Linked DNA regions of Homo sapiens: all the other regions are linked to region 3. Evidence: promoter capture Hi-C in human tissues and cell types (Jung and others, 2019). All regions are on one chromosome and are shown on one strand. Each heading gives the region's core, a stretch centred on a gene start or on the middle of the fragment in contact. The rest is flanking DNA. Distances are from core to core; before and after follow the strand shown. Region 1 overlaps SYS1-DBNDD2 (SYS1-DBNDD2 readthrough (NMD candidate)). Region 2 holds the start of LOC107987282 (a long non-coding RNA gene). Region 3 holds the start of WFDC3 (WAP four-disulfide core domain 3).

Region 1 (4,119 bases), core at 311-2,810, 400 kb before region 3:
AGATTTACCTATTATCTTTTTGTTATTGATTTCTAGTTTGATTTCATTGTGATCTCAGAACACATGCTGTGCGATTTTGATTTTCAAAAATTCCTTGAGGCCGGGAGCAGTGGTTCATGCCTGTAATCCCAAGTCTCTTGGATGCCACGGTAGGAGGATCACTTGAGGATAGGAGTTGAAGGCTGCAGTAAGCCATGATCGGCACCACTGCACTCCGGCCTGGGCAATAGAGCAAGATGCTGTCTCTTTAAAAAAATTTTTTTTAGTTGACTTTTATTCTGTGACTTAAGATATAGTCTTGGTGAGTGTTCCATAAGCATTTCAAAAGAATGTGAATCTTGTTATTGTTATGTGAAGTATTGTCTAAATATTAATTAGATTCTTTTGATTGATGGCTTTTTAAAGTTCTTATACATCCTTGCTGCTTTCCTGTCTAGTGTTTCTTTTTTTTTTTTTTTGAGACAGAGTCTTGCTCTGTCGTCCAGGGTGGAGTGCAGTGGCACAATCTCGGCTCACTGCAGCCTCCGCCTCCCGGGTTCAAGCAATTCTCCTGCCTTAGCCTCCCGAGTAGCTGGGATTACAGGCGCCCGCCACCACACCCGGCTAATTTTTATATTTAGTAGAGACAGGGTTTCACCATGTTGGCCAGGCTGGTCTTGAACTCCTGACCTTAGGTGATCCACCCGCCTTGGCCTCCCAAAATGTTGGGATTACAGGTGTGAGCCACCATGCCCACCCTTCTGTCTAGTATTTCTATCAAGTGTTGAGAGAGATGTGTTGAAGTCTCCAACTTTAATAGTAGATGTCTATTTTTTTTTTCAGTTCTACCAATTTTTGTTTCATAGATTTTTAAGATCTGTTGTTTGGTATGTACACATGTATGATTGCTATGTCTTCTTTGTGATTTGACCCATTTAATATCTTTTTTTGGCCCTGGTGATTTTCTTTGCTCAGCAGTCTATTTCATCTGATATTGAAATTGCTAACTCTGCTTTCTTTTAATTAATCTTTGTATGGTGTATCTTTTTTCATCCTTTTATGTTCAGTCTACCTATGTCATATTTGAAGTGAGTTTCTTGTAGAGAGCTTATTTTGGGTCATTTTTTTCACTCCGTTTTGCCAGTCTCAGAGTTATAAAGTATATTTATAGACTACCGGCAGTTAATGCAATTATTTGTTAGGGTTTAAGCCTGCCATTTGATTGTTTTCTTTTCATTCCCTCTGCTTTTCATTCTTCTCTTTTATTTCTCTACTCTTCCTATGGGTTAAACAGTTTTTAGAATTCCATTTTTTTTATCTATGGTGAAGTGTTTTTTTTAAGTGTATCTCTTTGTGTAGGTTTTTTAGTGGCTGCTTTCTATATTACATCATACATAACATAATCTATGACCATCTACTGGTATCGACACTTTTGCCACTTTGAGTGAGGGATAGAAGCCTGACCTCTATTTAGGTCCCTTTACCCTTCTCCTTTCATAATGTAATTGTCTTAAATATCTTCATTACATAAATTGAATCCACATCAGACCATGTTATATAATTTCTGTTTTAGCCATCAAACATAATTTAGAAAATGCAAGTGAAGAAGGATAGCCCATCATATTTACCCATATTTTTATTATTTCCATTGTTCTTTCTTCACTCCTGATGTTTCGGGTTTTCTTCTTTCATCATTTCCTTTATGTTTGGAGAACTTCCTTTAGCCATTCTTTCACGGTACAGCAGGTCCTCAAATAATGTTATTTTGTTTAACGTCATTTCTTTATAATGTTGATGAGAAAAAAAAACAACAACTGATTCCCAGCCATGGCCACTGTCTGTGTAGAGTTTGCACATTCTCGTCATGTCTGTGTGGGTTTTCTCTGGGCACTCCAATTTCCTCCCACATCCCAGAGATGTGCACATTAGGTTAATTGGTGTATCTAAATTATCTAAATTATCCAAGTATGAGTGAGGGGTGTGTGTGTGTGTGCGTGCACGCATTCTGTGATGGAATGGCATCCTTTCCAGGGTGCCTTGCACCCTGAGCTGCCAGAATAAGATTCAGCCACCCAGGACCCTGAAATGGAATAAGCAGGTTGGAAATGAAGAATAAGTGAATACAAATTATTGTAAAATAAAAATTTGTAAAGTATATAATAATCATACAAATGCATAACAGTAAATAATTTGGTATAAGAGCACTCAGCCAGCCTGCCATATTTATTATTGTTTTTGAACTGCATGGTGGTAGGAGATACTCCTTACAATTTTTGCTCTGCAAAGATTTATTCCTTGGTTTAACTCACCACCATGATGACTGCTGTCACTCACTGCTTATACTAATCCAGCATGACCTCACTTTAATTACATCACCAATAGGTGAGTAAATAATGAACTTCCCTGTTTTATTAATCTTTCTTAAATGTATGTATAGCTCACATTTATTTTAATGTTTAATACTAGATGTGTCTGGGCATTTATTTAGAAGCGTGGTATTGTTTTTGTGACCAGAAGTATGCTGTATGGACTTACCTTGTTAATATCAATTAGTCTACGATAAACTTGCTTTCATTATACATCATTTTGGTTAAAGTTGCAGTTTCCAAGAAACTATTGATGACATTAAGGACTTACTATAGTTCTTCAGTTAACAAATTATGTTAGTTTTTCCTTCATTTGAGAATGTCTTGACTTTCATACCTGAAGGATTTTTTCACTTTGCTTAGCATTCTGGGTTGACGGTTTTTTCTTTCAGTACTTAAACATATTGTGCCACTTCTTTCTGGCTTTCACAGTTTCTGATGAGAAATCTGCTGCAATTTAAATTGTTGCTGTATTATTGGTAAGGTTAATTTCTCTGCAACTGCTTTCAAGACTTTAGTTTTCAGAAATTTGTTTATGGTGTGTCTTGTATGGATTTCTTTGGTTTATCATGCTTGGGGTTTAGTCAGCTTCTTGAATCCGTGTGTGTATGTCTTTCATCAAATTTGGGACACTTTCAGCTTTATTTCTTTGAACACATTTTTAGCTCCACCTTTTTTTTTTCTCTTCACCTAGGACTCCCATGACACAAATGTTAAATCTTTTGTTATAATCTTCCATGTTCCTGAAGCTTTGTTCTCTCTCTCTCTCTCTCATCTCTAGATCACCTGATCCAGCAGGTGATCTGCCCACGTTGGCCTCCCAAAGTGCTGGGATTATAGGCATGAGCCATCCTGCCTGGCTGAAATCCTCTTTTTATTTGTACTCTTTTTATCCCTGCAAATCTAAGGTGATGTTTTTGGATATATAATCCTTTTTAAAACTTGTGGGTCACTTTGAATCTTATTCAATATTACTCTGTTAGACAAAAGACATGCCCACAGATTTCTTTGCAATAAGCCCTTCTCTACTCTAGGCTTCGGCTGAGATGGCTAAGAGACAACAATCAGCCGTAAGATTTCCAGAATCACTATTGTTTTGATTTGGAGGATCTGTGAGACATATCCATAATTTGTTTAGACTCTTTAAATATGACTGAATAGTATTCTGAGGCACTGCCTTAAGTCTTTCTGAGATGTTAACAAAATATTTTACATTAATATTCTTTTTTTTTTTTTTTTTTTTTTTTTTTTTTGAGACAGGGTCTTGCTCTGTCGCCCAGGCTGGAGTGCAGTGGTGCGATCTCGGCTCACTGCAACCTCCGCCTCCCAGTTTCAAGTGATTATCCTGCCTCCGCAGTAGCTGGAATTATAGGCATGTGCCACCACGCCCAGCTAATTTTTTGTATTTTTAGTAGAGATGGGCTTTTACCATGTTGGCCAGGCTGTACATTAATATTCTCAGTTTCATATTTGGACCAGGCTTTCCTGGCAGTGCCCTGTATTTGAGTTTTGCTAGGAAGCCATTTTTAAATTTTACTATCATCTGCTATTTGGAGAGGATAAGCATTTTCTAAATCATGAAGTCTTAGCTCTTTCATGTTTAACATTCTTTCCTTTTAAAAAGTTCAGCGTTTTTCAACTCGAGCCCTATTGATATTTCAGCTAGGATAATTATTTGATGTGTGTGTGTTTGGTGGGGGGATTGGGGTGGTTTGAGGGGGGCTGCCTTATACATTGTAGGATGTTTAACAGCATCCTTGGCCTCTGCCAACTA
Region 2 (3,796 bases), core at 1,162-3,661, 310 kb before region 3:
AGAATAGCTCTTCTTTGACTTTTCAAAAGTCAAAGAAGCAGTTCATGATCTTAAAGCGTTTAGCAAACCTAATTATCTGACCTAATTTAGACCAAATGTCTTTATTTTACCAATAATTTTTTAAACTGTCCTTCCAAAGCTTACTAAAGTCACGTGAACTAAAAGGCATTAGTTTTTATTTTCCTGACAAAATATTTAAGCGCTTATTTTTAAGCCAATTAATCAGAGCTCCTTCATATATAAATGTCACACACACAACACATATAAATATACAGACAGCAGAAGATCCAGTAGTTGTTACGATTTTTCATTTGGCAGTTTTTAAGTTTCTTAATTGGATTACTGGCTTCAGGGTGGGGTCCTTTGAGGAACAGGGTTAGGAAAACATGCCGTTTCTAGGGCTTAATAAGCAGATACAGATGGAAAGCAAAACAGATCCCCCAAAATTCAGGGTCCTATTTTTATACCGGATCCTCAATTCCCAAAAAAGAAATACTACAGAACAAGACAATGAATGATCTTACTGTGAGTTTCATTGCAAGACAACCCAGAGTCAATCAGCCCATTCTGTGATCAGCCTATCCCCCACGGAAGCCTTATCTCAGTGGTGGGGTGGGGGATGGGGATGTTTCCATACCTTCCAGGTGGCTGAGAGCACGCCTCTCTGATCCAAACGTGCAGAGAGCCAAGTATCCCGCCATAACTGCCACTGGCCATGCCCAAAAGTATATTTGCTACCTAGTTATTACACACCAAAGCTCACTCATAATGTGAAGTAATTTCTGATACTCTAAAAAGTAAAAAATGTCAAATAACGCAATGCAAAACAGAACAGAGCCTTAGCTTTTGAGAGAGATCTATCTGCTTCCAATCCCTGGGTCTTAATGAGGAAAACAGATGTTTTCCCTAAAACGGGGTCTGTGGCACCTCCTCTGTTTTTCTCAAGGAGTCCAAGGCTATTAGAAATTATCTTAGGTCCTCTCACATGTGCATCAAGAGTGGCAAGAAGGCAAAACAGAGAAACAATTCAGTTGACTGTGAAAAAAAAAATACCTTTTTTTTCCCCTTGTCTTGTTTTCCCCTGGTAAAAAAAAATACTTTTTTCTTCATAAGATCCAAGAAGAGAAAAAAACATAAAGACCTTTTAAATATACGTATAGCTTGGATATCTGCTTTTAATTAAGCTAACTTTTAACAAAATCTCTTATTACCAGACTCTAGCCGGGACAAACAGCCAATATTTATGGCCTTTAAACTTTACCAAAGGTAATCTCCCAGGTGAAACCAATAAGCCTTAACTAAGGTTGTGACTTAACCACAGGTGTACGAAGTATTTTCAAACAGGTGGTAAGCAGTTTTTACAAGATTTAGAATCTACAAAGGCAGCTTAGAGAAGGGAAAATTCAAAAAGGAAAGCCAGATGTTGTTCAAGGAGGGGCAGAGAATCAACAAATGGCAAAGCTCACGTAGATATCAAACTAGAAAGGACTAATTCCCTGAGCTGGGAATTGAACCCTGAATGTGGGCTGCCATTGTGAAAAGACAAAACCTTAGCTACTAAGCTTCAGCATTGGGCAGTTTCCATTTCTTTTCTTAGAAGGACCCTAGAGGCAGCCAATTTTGAGCTTGCAAAGGCTTTTAACTGCTCAAGACAATTTTTAGGGCTATGACGTGAACCTCAAAATTCCTGTCCTCTGGATGCTGGAGACTAAGAAGGTATACCACCATATGGTTACAAGGTCAAGCTTCCAAGGGCATAAGACAAGGGGAAAACTTCAGTCAGTTTTTTGTTTGTTTCAGGGACCTGCCGCAAAGTTTGTAACTGACCAGTGTGCCGGACTGGCTTGAACAGCAAGCTTACCGGGTCCTAAGCCCATATTCTATCCTAAGGTACCTCTCTTTATGACAGAAAAATACAGAAAGACAAATTCATAGCACAAATTACACCAGATTTGCTACAGCTTAATACTAGCCACATGAAGGCTTTTGTTTCATTAATTGAAACTTTGCAGAGGAGGCAGTGATTTTTACCATTCCTACAGTCGGCGCGCACAGAGAGAGGCCAGAAGTCTGACTGGTAAGAAATTCTTACCCTTTTGCTGGCATGCCAGGTTTCTGGGTTCCCTTTCCCTGAGTGGCCCTAGCGAATCTACTTGCTGCATCATAGCCCTGGAGGCCAAGCTGCAACACAAAATTAAAAAAAAAAAAATCTCAATTTTGTAAGATGCTGCCCAGTGGGTTGCATGGGGTAACCAAATGAACATTTTCCATTCCAGCCAGAGCAAAATACGTGTGACAAAACATAGACATTAGCCGCTCTGCTTAGCACCCAATATCTAACTGGCAAGGCTCAAACTTGCCCCCGGTTGGGCCTTGTCATCTTTAATCCATTCAAAGTGGGGTGGAGTGACCTCCGACCCGGAATTTCAACATGTGGTCTCTGGGCAAGATGGAAGAGCAGGTAGTCTCAAGTAACAGAAACGATAGGAAAAGAAAAGGAGAGAAAGAGAGAGTAAGAGAGAGAAGCCTGGTCTGAGGCAGGGTGGGGAAGCGGGGAGCTCAGGGAGACCAGAGGAATACCCACCCATTGCAGCAACACTGAATCAAAAGTTCAGGCAGGTACTTGTCAGTCACAAAGGGATCTTTTCCAGCAGTCCCATCAGCTCTCAAGTTGCCCCCTCTGGGGAGAAAAAAGTTCCCCATGTTCCAAGATCCTGTACATGCCTAATCCAGTCACCTGTAGCCATCAGCAAACAGTGCAAGGCAGATTAATCCAGAGAATAGCAGTTAACATTTCATAGTGCCAAATCCATTTCTAACCAAGAGGGATGTTACTGAGGGGGACCTCTGACCCACTGTCTTTCTCTTTTCTTTCTAACCACTGTCTTTCTCTTTTCTTTCTTTTTTTCTCTTTCTCTCTTTCTTCTTTTTGAGATGGAGTTTTTTGCTGTGTTGCCCAGGCTGGAGTTGTGCTTCATCCTAAGGTACCCCTTTTTATGACAGAAAAATACAGAAAGAAAAATTTACAAAATACAGAAAGAGCCCCCTCTGCTGGAGAAGAAATCTCCACCCACTCCACCTCCAGCCCCGACTCCTCAGCCTCTCCCACCCGCTCCGCCGCCACAGCCAGCCCTGCCCTCACCACCCCCGCTGGTGGCCCCCACGTCCAGCTCACCACCGCCACCACCGCTGCCACCTCCACCAGCTATGCCTTCGCCTCCACTGCCACCCCCGCCAGCCGCTGCCCCACCGGCTGCCCCTCCAGGGGAGCCCGCCCCCCATCCCCCGAGGACGCTGAGCTGCCGGACACCTGGCCTCTGCACCTGGCCAAGAAGCAGGAGACGGCGGCCGTGTGTGGAGAGACGGACTAGAAGGCTGACGAGAGTGGCGGAGAGGGCATTTTCCGTGAGCAGGACGAGTTCGTCATCCGCGCAGAGGACATCCTTTCCCTCAAGGTGAGTCCCAGGCTTCTCCAAAAACTGGGCCTGATGGGTTACTTGAGTGTTTGTTGAGCGCCTGCTGGATGAGAGGCTTGTGTTGGGACCTGCGGATCCAGTCATGGCTGAGGGAGAATGGCTGGGCCCACTGGAATTCACAGTCCAATGGGGCCGTTAGAGGTGGCAGTGACCTGCGGGCCTCAGAGGTGTTATTTGCGTATGTGTTTATACACGCATTACCTGTATGTAAGGTAAATACTTTTTTTTTTTTTTGAGACAGAGTCTCGCTCTGTCGCCCAGGCTGGAGTGCAGTGGCGCAGTCTCGGCTCACTGCAACCTCCGCCTCCCGGGTTCACGTC
Region 3 (3,843 bases), core at 1,147-3,646:
CAGAGTGAGACTCCATCTCAAAAAAAAAAAAAAAATTCTGCAACCACCTTCCCCTCCTCATACACAAATACTAACATATATCCACCACTGCTAAAGGAGCAGCCATCCTGCAGATAACGAGAGAGAAAGGGTGGGATGATCCTGTTCTCATTTAATGAGTTCTAGGGAAAAGCTAGAACCTCTAGTAAGCCCAACTGGAAGTCCTATCTCCTTGTCCAGAGAGGGTAAAGAAAGCCAGGAAGAATGACCCAGGCCATCCTGAGAATCTATTCATCCAGTCCTGTCCTATAGAGATGATCATCTCCACTTACAAGCAACCTTGCTCTGGGAGAAGGCAGGGGATGAGTTCTCCTCTCCTCTAGTCACTTTCTGTTACTGTTGGCCAGGGATCCCAAATGATAGCTCACCATGTTCTCCTGCAGTTATCCAGGATTCCAGAGACCCAAGAGCAAGAAGTGCCTTCAGAAGAAAGAGGCAGCTTAACATCATGATGATGCTGAGAGTTGGGACAAGAGCTCAGTTCAGGCTAGAGGTGTACACCTTGCCCAGAGTATCAGCTGAGGTATGAGCAGGACTAGGGATGGCCCCAAACCCAGTCCCAAAACCTTCCCTTTCACAATACTCCCCAAGAATATCTTCTCCTGACAAGAAGAAGAGGGATTGGCTGCTGGAGTGTGGGAAAATTCCTGGCACTACCAAAGGGGACCTGTGATGGGAGGATCAAATTCTGTAAGCAATATACACAATATTCCTGGATGATGAGAAACCTAGTGGGTGGCTGGAAAAATGGAGGGGTGGCCATTGGAAAAAGAATCAAAGAGAGCCCTAAAGGGCATTGGAAGGACATGGCTTTAGCCCAAATAACAGAGGGAGGGATTCACGACACTACTTAATGGCCAAAGCTAATAACATAACCAAGCATAATAAAATTGTGGCTCCTGTTCATCCTAGCAACCAAGAAAATACAGAATGGAACAGACCACTCAGAAACTATCAAATAGGCCAAGGCGGGCAGATCACCTGAGGTCAGGAGTTTGAGACCAGCCTGGCCAACATGGCGAAACCCTGTCTCTACTAAAAATACAAAAATCAGCTGGGCATGCTGGTGCATGCCTGTAATCCCAGCTACGTGGGAGGCTGAGGCAGGAGAATAGCTTGAACCCAGGAGGCAGAGGTTGCAGTGAGTGGAGATCATGCCACTGCACTCCAGCTTGGGTAACAGAGTGAGACTCTGTCTCAAAAAAAAAAAAAAGAGAGAAAAGAAACTATCAAAAACCTACAGAAAAGCAGTAGTTGAGTTTGTTAAGAACTAATGAAAAGCACCAAACACCTACATCTTTGTCCCTCTAACCCACACAGGCCATTCTTGGACTGTATGAAGTCTAGCTGGCAGAACCCAAGAGAAGTTGCTATGTATGACTCAAATAGTCTGCCCACATATACCTCCTTTATTTCTTTTTTCTCCATTTCTTTTTTTCTTTATCTGTCCTGGTCATGCCTTTGGTTAGCTGTGATACCTAATGGTGTCCACTGGCACTGCTTAGTCCTATGGGCAGGTACAAGGTAAAACCTCCTTAATAGGATCAAAAAGTTTGGAGCCAGGAAGTCGCCCTTATGGTTAGAAGGCTGATGTTGGCTCATGGAGATAATTAACATTTGATGATGACCTCATATGTGCCTAATATGCTTTTTTTTTTTTTTTTTTTTTTTTTTTTGAGACAGAGTCTCCCTCTGTCCCCCAGGCTGGAATGCAGTGGCGCGATCTCGGCATAATTAACATTTGATGATGACCTAACATGTGCCTAATGTGCTTTTTTTTTTTTTTTTTTTGAGACAGTCTCCCTCTGTCGCCCAGGCTGGAGTGCAGTGGCGTGATCTCGGCTCACTGCAACCTCCGCCTCCTGGGTTCAAGAGACTCTCCTGCCTCAGCCTCCCGAGTAGCTGGGATTACAGGTGCCCACCACCACGCCCGGCTAATTTTTATATTTTTAGTAGAGACGGGGTTTCGCCATGTTGGCCAGGCTGGTCTCGAACTCCTGATGGCAAGTGATCCTCCCGCCTCGGCCTCCCAAAGTGCTGGGATTACAGGCGTGAGCCACCGCCCCTGGCCGAGCATATTAAAATCTAGTTTTCAAAAACTGAACTGCAGGCGCCGCTGTACCAAACGCTTCCCTCTGCTCCCCAACCCCAGCCTACAGAAAACTGGTCCCTTCCTCCTACCCCGCAGTCATCCCCAGGCCTTGGCCCAGCGGGAAACATCCCTTGACTGAACCGCCACTGAACACCCACACTGCACAATCGAGGCGCAGCCCTCCCGAGAGGAAGCCCCAACGACCTCCACCTACAAGGCCTCTAAGTGTAACTGTCCTGGGCGAGGCGCGGCGGTTCGGTTCCCATGGTAACCCCGCAGCTCCAGCGTCGCGCTTCCGGGCGGACGAGCAGCGCGCTCCAGTGACGTCACGGCGCCACTTTCCGGCCGGTGACAGAGTCCAGCGGAGTTGTGGGGGCCGGGGGCGCCATGGGAGCCACTGGCGACGCCGAGCAGCCGCGGGGACCTAGCGGGGCCGAGAGGGGCGGCTTGGAGCTGGGGGATGCGGGCGCAGCGGGGCAGCTGGTTCTTACGGTGAGGGCGCCCCCGGTGAGGTCTGGGCTCAGGCCGGGCACGGCCTCGGGGCTCCTGGGACCCTGGCCCGCGGGCGAGAGAACGCGGAGGCTGGAGCTGCAGAGGGGGTTGGCGTTTTCGCAGCCCGACGACCTGGATTTAAATTCTGGTGCCGCCCTCCTAGCTAGGTGACGTGGGCCATCTCTGTCAACCCCCTGAGTCCCAGGATCCTCTTCTATAAAATGGAAATGATTAGTACCTGTCTCATAAAACTTGTTGTGGGATGGGAAGATAAAGGCGGGTACAACGCCCCGGACATCACCTGACACAGAGTTGACCCTCGGTAAATACTGCTTCCCTTCCTCCTGCCGTGCCAGAAGGCAGGGTCGGGACTTTTAAGGCAGGAAACTTCCTCAGTTCCTCTTTTGTGGAGGAGGCCTTACAACTATCGTCCCACCCCAAGGCGGGAGAGATGGTGACGGATCTGAGAAGCAGGGATGTCCAGGTTTAACTTCATACCCACCCTCCACCTCCACCCCACCCCAGTGTCACAGGCCGCAGTGACATTTGTTCCGTTGGTCCCCACAGAACCCTTGGAACATAATGATAAAGCACCGGCAGGTGCAGCGGAGGGGCCGCCGCTCACAGATGACAACAAGGTAAGGCTGGCCCTGCATGGGGCTTATATCCCAGCCACTGGCTTGCATGGCAGATTTGGGATCCCCAGTGCACAAGGCTATGGAGATCTACAGCCGGTAGAAAGAGCACAGGACTGAGGAAGAGGAGACTCCGATTCTGTAACTCTGTGTGATCTTGAACTAGTCAAGTCACTTCCTTCTCTGAACTCACGTACAAAATGGGGAAGGGCACAGGAGATGGGTTGTGGAATAAACAATACCTAAGATCCCTCACATTCACTGGCTCTGTGGTTGAGGGCTCTAAAGAGGTCAGTTAGCATGGAGTTTAAGAGAACAGGCTCTGGAGTCAGACAACTGTGTTCTCATCAACAGACTCTGATGAGCCCGTTTTCTCAACTATAAAGAGGGATTAATAGTATGCATGTCAGGGAAGGGAGAGAGCACAAGGTGGGCCTTTGGGATGCTGATAGTGGTGAAATGGATGTTCACTATAATTACTCATTAAAGTGTATAGACTTTTCTGTATAAGTATTATATTTCATAAAAACACTTTGGGCCGGGCGCGGTGGCTCACGCCTGTAATCCCAGCACTTTGGGAGGCTG

The links. Contacts are between HindIII fragments. The study calls those that stand out against the background at their distance.
Region 1: a contact is called between a fragment that was not itself captured here and the fragment with the promoter of WFDC3 in region 3, in 2 of the 25 tissues and cell types used here (dorsolateral prefrontal cortex and mesendoderm cells).
Region 2: a fragment that was not itself captured here is called in contact with the fragment with the promoter of WFDC3 in region 3 in 2 of the 25 tissues and cell types used here (H1 embryonic stem cells and mesendoderm cells).

The regions. Positions count from the first base shown.
Region 1 is chr20:45,388,785-45,392,903 of GRCh38, forward strand. The region is part of intron 3 of SYS1-DBNDD2 (SYS1-DBNDD2 readthrough (NMD candidate)); the gene reads left to right. Among named protein-coding and RNA genes, the nearest start is that of TP53TG5, 13 kb to the left of the region's middle. The HindIII fragment of the contact is 5,202 bases long and covers 1-4,119 here.
Region 2 is chr20:45,484,256-45,488,051 of GRCh38, forward strand. It overlaps LOC107987282 (a long non-coding RNA gene), which reads left to right and starts at 3,357. Exons shown (of 4, transcript XR_001754641.3): 1 at 3,357-3,455. The HindIII fragment of the contact is 3,122 bases long and covers 851-3,796 here.
Region 3 is chr20:45,789,487-45,793,329 of GRCh38, forward strand. It overlaps WFDC3 (WAP four-disulfide core domain 3), which reads right to left and starts at 2,397. Exons shown (of 7, transcript NM_080614.2): 1 at 2,346-2,397; 2 at 408-496. The coding sequence starts at 489. DNTTIP1 (deoxynucleotidyltransferase terminal interacting protein 1) reads left to right here and starts at 2,468. Exons shown (of 13, transcript NM_052951.3): 1 at 2,468-2,623; 2 at 3,191-3,261. The coding sequence starts at 2,519. RefSeq lists silencers at 2,551-2,820, 3,031-3,170. The HindIII fragment of the contact is 18,270 bases long and covers 1-3,843 here.